Linked DNA regions of Homo sapiens: regions 1 and 2 are each linked to region 3. Evidence: promoter capture Hi-C in 16 types of primary human blood cells and fetal thymus (Javierre and others, 2016). All regions are on one chromosome and are shown on one strand. The core of a region is centred on a gene start or on the middle of the fragment in contact, and the rest is flanking DNA. Distances in the headings are between cores, read along the strand shown. Region 1 overlaps PITPNC1 (phosphatidylinositol transfer protein cytoplasmic 1). Region 2 overlaps ABCA5 (ATP binding cassette subfamily A member 5). Region 3 holds the start of SLC16A6 (solute carrier family 16 member 6).

What was found. Contacts are between HindIII fragments. The CHiCAGO score rates a contact against its expected background, and 5 or more counts as called.
Region 1: a contact is called between a fragment that was not itself captured here and the fragment with the promoter of SLC16A6 in region 3, in 1 of 17 cell types (non-activated CD4 T cells). The highest score is 6.3, in non-activated CD4 T cells.
Region 2: a fragment that was not itself captured here is called in contact with the fragment with the promoter of SLC16A6 in region 3 in 1 of 17 cell types (erythroblasts); the score reaches 5.6 in erythroblasts.

Annotation. Positions count from the first base shown.
Region 1 is chr17:67,449,415-67,452,484 of GRCh38, forward strand. The region is part of intron 1 of PITPNC1 (phosphatidylinositol transfer protein cytoplasmic 1); the gene reads left to right. Among named protein-coding and RNA genes, the nearest start is that of MIR548AA2, 21 kb to the right of the region's middle. The HindIII fragment of the contact is 3,703 bases long and covers 1-3,070 here.
Region 2 is chr17:69,263,447-69,266,745 of GRCh38, forward strand. ABCA5 (ATP binding cassette subfamily A member 5) reads right to left here. Exons shown (of 39, transcript NM_172232.4): 24 at 1,289-1,459. Among named protein-coding and RNA genes, the nearest start is that of PRO1804, 30 kb to the left of the region's middle. The HindIII fragment of the contact is 492 bases long and covers 1,451-1,942 here.
Region 3 is chr17:68,289,257-68,292,574 of GRCh38, forward strand. SLC16A6 (solute carrier family 16 member 6) reads right to left here and starts at 1,871. Exons shown (of 6, transcript NM_004694.5): 1 at 1,830-1,871. ARSG (arylsulfatase G) reads left to right here and starts at 2,239. Exons shown (of 12, transcript NM_001267727.2): 1 at 2,239-2,312. RefSeq lists silencers at 2,007-2,696, 2,063-2,237 and an enhancer at 3,097-3,318. The HindIII fragment of the contact is 8,812 bases long and covers 1-3,318 here.

The DNA.
Region 1 (3,070 bases), core at 545-3,044, 840 kb before region 3:
TCACCTATTTTGAAGCCTTGCTGACGACCCGAGATTCCTTGTTAAACTGCCACTGGAATAAGCATAACACTTTTCATTAAAGGAAAAAGAAAATGTTACTTAAAGTAATAGGCACACCCTTTTATTTTCTTGACAGATAGCAAAGAAAAAAATCTTCTGTCTTTACCTTGACAAGACATGTACCATTGCTGGGAGGTTTTGCTTGTATGAGAACTTCAACGTTAGAATCTAGACATCTCGGAGAATTGAAACTCAACAAGTTTCTCTGTTTTGGGGTGGAGAAAAAGGACAAAAAGTTGTCATATACAGCTAGCTGTCCAAACAGTCAAATACGAAAGCTAATTTATCTTTTAAAAGGTTAATTCTTTGATGCCTCTATCACAGTTAGTGTTAAAATGAAAGCATTGGAAACAAACTCTTTTTCTGTTAGCTCAGATTTTAAAAAAATTCTTTTTGCAGAGATGGGGGTCTCACTATGTTGCTCAGGCTGGTCTTGAACTCTTGGCCTCAAGCGATCCTTCTGCCTTGGCCTCCCAAAATGTTGGAATTACAGGGGTGAGCCACTGAGCCAGATTTTGAATATTTTAATTACTTAACTGCTTGTCTGTCTGGCAATGAGATAAGCGCAGTAGCCAGTGATTACCAACAGTTAAACAGAAGAACAAGTCACATAAACAACACTTATACTTCCTGTAAACCCAATTAAAACCACATTTCAGGTTTGCTCTTATGATTTAGAAGTAAATTTAGAATCAGTTTCATGAATCTTGCAGTATTTTTCAAATTAATGTCTTTAGGCATTTGGACAATGGGCTGTGTGAATGCAAACTGCGTTTTCTTCAATTGCTATCAATTAGAGACAGTTAAGAACTCAACTGATGAAGAAATAGCCACCTGAAAGTGAGCCCACAGGCAAGTCACAGGCCCCTCTTCCTCCTGAAGGTGCACGGGAGACTTCGTTAAAAAAAAAAAAGCTGTAGTAAAATACGTATAAGATAAAAATTTACCATTTTAAGTTTCTTTTTTTTGAAGACGAAGCCTTGCTCTGTCACCCAGGCTGGAGTGCAGTGGTGTGATCACAATTCACTGCAGCCTCACCCTCTCCGGCTCAAGCGATCCTCCCACCTCAGCCTCTCGAGTAGCTGGGACTACAGGCGCACACCACCGTGCCCACTAATTTGTTGTAGTTTTAGTAGAGACGAGATTTTCGCTGTGTTGCCCAGGCTGGTCTCAAATTCCTGGGCTCAAGTGATCCACCCGCATCAGACTCCCAGAGTGCTGGGAAGGTGTGAGCCACCATGCTCGGCCCATTTTAAGCATTGTAAATTGTACAATTTAGTGGCATTAAGTATTTTCACAATGCTGGGCAACCATCATCACTGTTCACTTTCAGAACTTTTTCATCATTCCAAATAGAAATTCCACCCATTAAACACTAACTCCCCAATGTCCCCTTCCCCCACCCTCTGGTAACCTTTATCCTATGTTCTGCCTCTATGAATTGGCCTATTCTAGGTACCTCATAAAAGTAGAATCAATATTATGTGTTCTTCTGTATCTGGCGTCTTTTTCTTAGCATGTTTTCAAGGTTCAGCTGTAGCCCATATCAGAATCTAATTTCTTTTCCTTTTTTTGAGACAGAGTTTCACTCTTGTCACTCAGGCTGGAGTGCAGTGGCACGATCTTGGCTCACTGCAACTTCCGCCTCCTGGGTTCAAGCAATTCTCCTGCCTCAGCCTCCTGAGTAGCTGGGACTACACGCGCGCGCCATCACACCCAGCTAATATTTGTATTTTTAGTAGAGACGGGGTTTTGCCATGTTGACCAGGCTGGTCTCGATCTCCTGACCTCAGGTGATCCACCCACCTTGGCCTCCCAGACTGCTAAGATTACAGGTGTGAGCCACCGTGCCTGGCTAAAAATTCTTTTTTGCACATGATAAACTCACCTATCTTAAGTGTAAAATGAATAAGTTTCAGTAAAACAACAAAAGCTCTTAAGTTTTAGTAAATCCATACATCTGTGCAGCCATCACCGCAGTCCAGTTTTAGAACTTTCCATTCCCCCCTAAACATCCTCCTTGCCTGTTTGTGGTCAGTTCTTGCTCTTACCCTGATCCCCGGCAACTAGTGATGTGATTTACGTCTCTATAGTTTTGTCTTTTCTAGTAATTTCGTATAAAAATTATACAACATGTAGTCCTTTGAGACTGACCTTTTTTTTTTTTGTTTTGTTTTTTTTTGAGACAGAGTCTCGCTCTGTCGCCCAGGCTGGAGTGCAGTGGCGCGATCTCGGCTCACTGCAATCTCCGCCTCCCGGGTTCATGCCATTCTCCTGCCTCAGCCTCCAGGGTAGCGGGCACTACAGGTGCCCACATCACGCCTGGCTAATTTTTGTATTTTTAGTAGAGATGGAGTTTCACCATGCTAGCCAGGATGGTCTCAATCTCCTGACCTCGTGATCCGCACACCTCGGCCTCCCAAAGTGCTGGGATTACAGGCCTGAGCCACCACGCCTGGCCGAGACTGGCTTCTTTTACTCAACATAAAGTTTTTGAGTTCATTCGTGTTGTTGAATGCATCAGTGGTTGGGTTTTTTTTTTGTTGTTGTTTTTTGAGATAGGGTCTCACTGTGATCACCCAGGCTAGAGTGCAATCACAGTTCACTGCAGCCTCCACCTCCTGGGCTCAAGTGATCCTCCCAACGTCATCCTCCTGAGTAGCTGGGACTACAGGCACATGCCACCACACCTGGCTAATTTTTGTATTTTTGTTTTGTATAGACGGGGGTCTCACTATGTTTCCCAGGCTAGTCTCGAACTCCTGAGCTCAAGCAGTCTGCCTGCCTCAGCCTCCCAAAGTGCTGGGACTACAGGCGGGAGCCATCATGCCTGGCCAATAGCTGGTTCTTGTTTTACTGCTAATAGCATTCCATTATAGGGATGTACCACATTTTGTTTATTCATCACCAGTTGATAGAGATTTGTTTCTAATTCGGGGCTACTGTGAATATTGCTGCTGTGATCATTTGTATACAATTCTTGGATGGACATGTGCTTTCGTTCCTCTTG
Region 2 (3,299 bases), core at 447-2,946, 970 kb after region 3:
GGCTAGCCAGCTATCCCAGCACCATTTATTGAACACAGAGTCCTTTCCTATTGCTTATTTTTATCAATTTTGTTGAAGATCAGATGGCTATAGATGTGTGGCTTTATTTCTGGGTCCTCCATTCTGTTTCATCGGTCTACATGTCTGTTTTTGTACCAATACCATGCTGTTTTGGTCACTGGAGCCTTTATAGTATAGTTTGAAGTCAGGTAATGAAATGCCTCTGGCTTTGTTCTTTTTACATGGATTCCTTTTTTTTTTTTTTTTTGATAAAAAGTCTCTCTCTGTTGCCCAGGCTTGAGTGCAGTAGCACGATCTTGGCTCAACACAACCTCTACCTCCCCGGTTCAAGCGATTCTCCTGCCTCAGCCTCCTGAGTAGCTGGGACTACAGGCGCATGCCACCACGTCCAGCTATTTTTTTGTATTTCTAGTAGAGATGGTGTTTCACTATGTTGACCAGGATGGTCTTGATCTCTTGACCTCGTGATCCACCCGTCTCGGTCTCCCAGAGTGCTGGGATTATAGGCATGAGCCCCCGCGCCCAGCTTATGTAGGATTCCTTTAGCCATCTGGGTACTTTTGGGGTTCCATATGAATTTTAGAATAGCTTTTTAAAATTCTGTGATGAATAATGTTGGTAGTTTGATAGGAATAGTGTTGAATCTGTAGATTGCTTTGGGCAGTATGGCCACTTTAATATATTGAGTCTTCTAATCCATGAGCATGAAATTTTTTTCCATTTGCTTGTATCATCTCTGAATTCCTTCACCAATGTTTTGTAGTTCTCCCTGTAGAGATCTTTCATCTCCTCTGTTAGATGTATTCCTAGGTATTTTAATTTTTTGTGGCTATTGTAAATGGAGTTGTGTTCTTCATCTGGCTCGCAGCCTGCCCATTATTGAGATAGAGAAATGTTAAGCTATATTTTAAACTATGGAATAAAAGAGCTTATCCTTTGTGAAATTATTTTCAGGCATAAGAAAAACGAAGGAAGGCATTTTAAGGAAGGAATATATTAAAACGTTCCTGATTACACCCAAGTAGGTGGTCTACATGAAAGATCACTTTAGTTTCAAGAAATTATTTTAAAATGGTGGTAAGTTATTGTTTTTAAAAGTCACTTATCATATAAAATGATTACATGTATTAAATACCAGACACACTTGCTCTATTTTCTTTAACAAATTAATAACCAAATTATGCAATAAGTCAACTGTCATGTTTATAACAGATTTTAAATAACATTCTATCTATAAATAGCATGAGTACAACTAACGTTAACTTACCACAGCAAGGAACTTTACAGTATAAAAATATAATCCATAATGAAATGCCAATAAGCTTCCTAGCATCAAAATAAGAATGATAAAAAATAAGGGGATATCAACAACAGCTTGTCCAATCCAATATGCAGATGGCAAAAGACCTGAAAGTTTAAGTTGAGTATAAGCTTTGATCTAAAAAAAATGAAAAACAATTTATTATAATTTTAGACACTTTAGAAACACACAAATAAATTAGTAAATTATTGTAGATCTCTTAATTTTACATCAGCAAAACCAAAAAGGTTACATTCCAGGCTTATAGGTAATAAAAGTCCCCCTCACACTAAATACAAATTCCATTTAGCCTTTAATTTGGCTCATTATTTCTGAGATGTAACAATTTCAACAAAATTTTTAAGAATCAGAATACAGTAGTGCTGCCAAGAAACTGAGATTAAAATAAAGCAAAAGGTGTCATGGCGGTTGGGGTTACAGCTATACAAATAATAAATAGCCAAAACATTACTACTTTTGAAATACTGTGGAAACAGATGGGAAGACATGTTTACACAGAAAAAGAATTCTCAGTTTTAAAAATGAACCTTTCATAAATAAAAACACTAATAAATTGCCAAGTATCCTTTGGATTTACATAAGGCTTTCAGCTTAAGTGAAAGCTTTTGAAATGTTCAAAGCCTTTTGTGTACACTGGTATAGCATATAAATCTAAGGTGTTATTTACGTCACAAGTTTGTTAATGGTAAACTCAAATGATCATAGTTTTCCTATCTCATGTTCTCATTTAATTTGAAATTTCTAAAATATTTCATAAATCCAAATACCTAACAATTTTATTTAGTTGATTTTTGTCATCTATAAAAATATCTACTCCTAATAACTGAAGGTATTATATGAAAGAGCTGTCCACAGAGATAAAGGAAGCATGAAATATAAAGATTAGTTAAGAAGAGGAGAAATGAACAAAATTGGCAAGTTTTCTGTTCAATGAATTATGAGAACATGAGACACATGTAAATTCTAATACAAGAATAAAAACATAAGCTAAGGCAAATGCAATTATTTTGGATAATTCAAACTTTTGTCATTCACACACTGCTGGTAGGGATAACATAAAATGGAACACTCATCTTGGAAAATAATTTGGCAATTTCTTATAAAATTAACATGTATAATTCAGCAATTGCACTCTTGGGCATTTATCTCAGAGAAATGAAAATGATGTTTACACAAAACCTGTATGCAAATGTCCACAGCAACTTTACAAAAGCCAAAAACGGAAAACAATCCAAATGTTCTTCAACAGGCAAATGGTTAGAGAAAGTGTGATGTATCCATACCATGGAATATTACTCAGCAATGAAAAGGAATGGATTATTGATAAATACAAATAGGATGAACTTCAAAAAAAATGCTATTTGAAAAAAGCCAATCCCAAAAGAAAACTTATTGTGATGCCATTTTACATTTTTGAACTATCAAAATTACAGAAATAGAGAACAGAGTAGTGGTTGCCACAGGTCAGAGAGGCTAGGAAAGAGCAAAAAATGGGAATCTTTTTGGTGACAGAAATGTTCTGTATCTTGACTGTGTCAATGCCAATACCCTGTTACATTGTACTATAATTTTACGAGATGTTATTATTGGGACAAAATGTAAAGAGTACACAGGATCTCTCTGTCATTTCTAACAAACAAACATGAATATACAACTATCTCAAAATAGAAACTTTAATTAAAAATAAGTTAGTGGGTGCAGTGCACCAGCATGGCACATGTATACATATGTAACTAACCTGCACAATGTGCACATGTACCCTAAAACTTAAAGTATAATAAAAATATATATATATATAAATAAAAAAATTAAAAAATAAATAAATAAAAATAAAAAATTTATATTGGAAAAAAAATGTTTCAGTTGAAACAAGAAAGAAAATGCAAATGTCCAGTAAATTTTATTATTGTGCAGTGGGTTATGGATTTCTATATTCCTTATACTTTTCTATAATTTA
Region 3 (3,318 bases), core at 621-3,120:
TACTGCACTCCCATGATGGGAGTGAGACCCTGCCTCTAAACAAATAAATAAGTAGGTATCTTGCCAAAGGCTTGGAAATCCGCTATCCTTGGGAGTTTCACTGTGATTTAATTTGTCGAGAGAAGATTTGGCCCGAGGGCATGAAAAAAATTGTATTATTGTAGACCATCAGAGTGTTATTCCAGGGTCAGCTAAGAGCAAGTTTCAAAACGCAGGCTCTGGATGGAAATGGGGTGGCTACTGTTGTAGGCAGACCTCGAGCAAAAGCACTGCGGATTTCTCTTCTTCTTAAAGGCGTAGCCCGGAGAACAGCTTTGACAAGTTGTTTCTGGCCCAAGTTGTCAAAACCAGTCTGTATTTGGCTAAAGTTCATCTGCATTCTCTATTTAAAAAAAATTTCCAAACCTAACCTGGATAGCTGCCTCACGATGTTGAATCACTGGCTACAACCGAGTCACCATTTTACAAGACTATGGTGTTGAAACCTGAGCCCCTAATTTAAGTGTCCTCCTCAGGAGTTCCACTGAGGAAAGTCCTTTTTCGGAAACCACAGAAGGAAAACTCAGGGTTAGTGGTACTCATTACACTGGAAGGAGCTTTTCCACTTGGCTGCATTGTTTATTTACACACTGTAAGTTCCTATTTTGGACACTCTTCCCTTAATTATGAGAAGAGGGGTTTCTATTATATCATCTGGCCGGATGTATTGTTGACCCCAAAAATGCCACATAACGGTGCTTGGGACATGGGGAGATGCATGGTTTAGAGATTTCAGCATAAGCACTTGGCATCTTTTTTACAAGCAAGACACCTATCTTACCATGATTTGCAAAAACAATCAGATCACTGAGAAATCTCATTCCCGGGGTAGAAACCATCTCCTGCGAGAAGGAGCTGGCACGGAGTGTCTAACCGTGCAAACAAAACCGGCTTCCAGGTTGACAAGTTGTAATTGCTCTTCCCCAGTTGGCTCCGGGGAGCTTTTTCTAAGACTGACGCCCCCCATGTTTGGTGACATTTTATATACGCCACCTAACAAACTTCTATGACCTGTCTTGCTAGGGTGGGGGGAATAAAAAGAAAAGACGACAACAACCTAGAAGGAAATAACCCATTTCCTCTGCAAAACCATCTTCCCTTGCTACGGAACTGCTTGGCGACACCAGCGCTTTCCTGCGGTTGGCAGCCCGGGAACCTTGAAGTTGCGCGGGACCGGCCGTCAGCCGCTGACAGTTCTGACAGTCCAGGTGGAGGACCCGCGCTCTGCCGGGAAATCCCCGGCTTCCCGCTGGGGACAAACGGTGGCCGCCGCAGGGAGTGCTGTGTTTGGGGGTCGGGGGAGGCAGGGAGCCCCACTTTCCCTCGCGCTGCCTCAGTGCCCGGCCTGCGTGCGCGCGCCAGCCTGGGGTAGGAAGGTACCTCTGACATTTCGCTCCTGCGACGCGCAGGCAACTTCATGCGGAAAATCCGCGGAGGGGCTGAGCCTGGAGCCCCCGACTCTTCCGACGTCCCGGAGCCCCCAACCCGGGGCAGGGGGCACTCAAAGGCCAGGCGTGCCTTTAGGTATCTTCCGGGACCCAACTGTACCAGGGTCACGGACATTCAACTCTCAGCTACCCACACCGGCGCGAGCGCGTCATCCCGGTGGCCCTGGGCATTCCTAACTGTCAGAGCGAATATTTTTGGGAATAACCTCTCCAAAATGTGAAGATGTTCAGTGGTCTCCTCCGCCTCCCATCACAAAAAAAGGCCCCAACACATATTTTTTAAAAAACAACCCACATCCCACAATCAAACTTTTAAACATGTAAAATAATAAACCAACTCACCAAGTTAGAAGGGAAGAGAATAAACCCCCAAAGGCTCCCAATAAGGCGGAGGCTTGGCCTCCCCCTCCTTATAAGCCGCTCGGTAACATGAGAAAAGGATTAACCCCTTAGGGGGCGGGCCCGACTCTAGCGCAAGTTGGCTCGGGCTGGTGAGGCCCGAGCGCCCGGGCCCTCCACCCACTCCCGCGACTCGGGCACCCGAGCCACACCCTCCCCCCGCCCCCCACCCCGGCCGCCTGCGACCCGGGCCGTGCGTGCTGCCGCCCGCGCCCCGGCCCCGCGTCGCTGCCTAGCTCTTATCCTATACCGGCTGCAGCCGGTCTCCGCCGGCCTCGGGGGCGCGCCGCCGCCGACCATGTGCTGCGAGCGCTGAGCGCAGCCAAGGAGGGGGCCTGCCTGGCGCGCGCGCGCCGTCCCACGTGGACCTGAGCCGCGCCGGTCGCGCGCCCGCCAGCCTGCCGCCTGGGCTGGGGGTCACGAAAGGTAACCGCGTCGCGGTCCGGGGCCGGGCCGCCCCCGCCAGCGCCGCCGGGGTCCTTGGCACAACGCCCCGATCTCCCAACCCGGGTGCGCCTCTGCGCGCGTGACCCGCCCAGACCCCGGAGCTTTGCTGCAACGCTAGTAGGAGCGCGAGCGTGCAGGGTGTTGGGGGTGCCTGCATCCTGTCTCGGAGCACCTCGGCCAGGCGCGAGCGCGCGGGTCCCCGTCCCCACCCCCGGGCGCCTTCCCGGCGCGCCCACCGCCCAGTCCCGCCCGCGCCCTGAGGATTTAGGGATTTAGCGGCGAGGGGGAACACGCGCGCGCCGGGGCTGATCCCGCGCGGCGCTCGCGGCTGCGGCGGCTTCGCGCCCGCCCCGGGCAGAACAGGTTCCTTCCAGTTTGGGTGTGAGCTGCGCGCGCGGCGCCTGAGTTCCTCCTGCAGCGCCCACTTCCCCCAGTTTCGTCAACTCGCGCACCCCCACAGTTCCCCTTCCGGCAGTGGGGAGGGAGTGTCGCAGTGGGCCCCAGGGAGCGAGCGGCCGGGCCGCTGCGGGTGCCTTGCTTCCCCCACTTTGCTGCACCGGCAGCAGCGGCAGCAACAGCATCCGCGTTGCGCGAAAGGAATGTGAGCAGCCGGGCTGAGTCAGCATCCCCGGCCCGGGGCGCGCGCGCACCCTCCAGGCAGTGGCGGCGTCGGCACAGGTGCATGGCTCCCATACCCGCGGGGAGCCCTCTGTAAGGGACCTGGAGGTTTAGACAGTCCGTGCCCCTCATCCCGTAGTCCCCGACCCCAAGGTCACCGTGAACTAAGCGGATGATGCACGCGAAATCTCAGGAGCTCCTCATGGGGACAAAGCATGTGTCAGATCCTAGACATTTCAGAGCCTGCGGGGGCGCAAACTTAGCTTCTTGGTCTCTACCTCACATCCCGAGGGCAAATTTGGAAACTGCTCGGAAGCAAAGGCCATGTTATTTGCATTCGTATGCAGACTTTGGCGCCGGCTGCTGC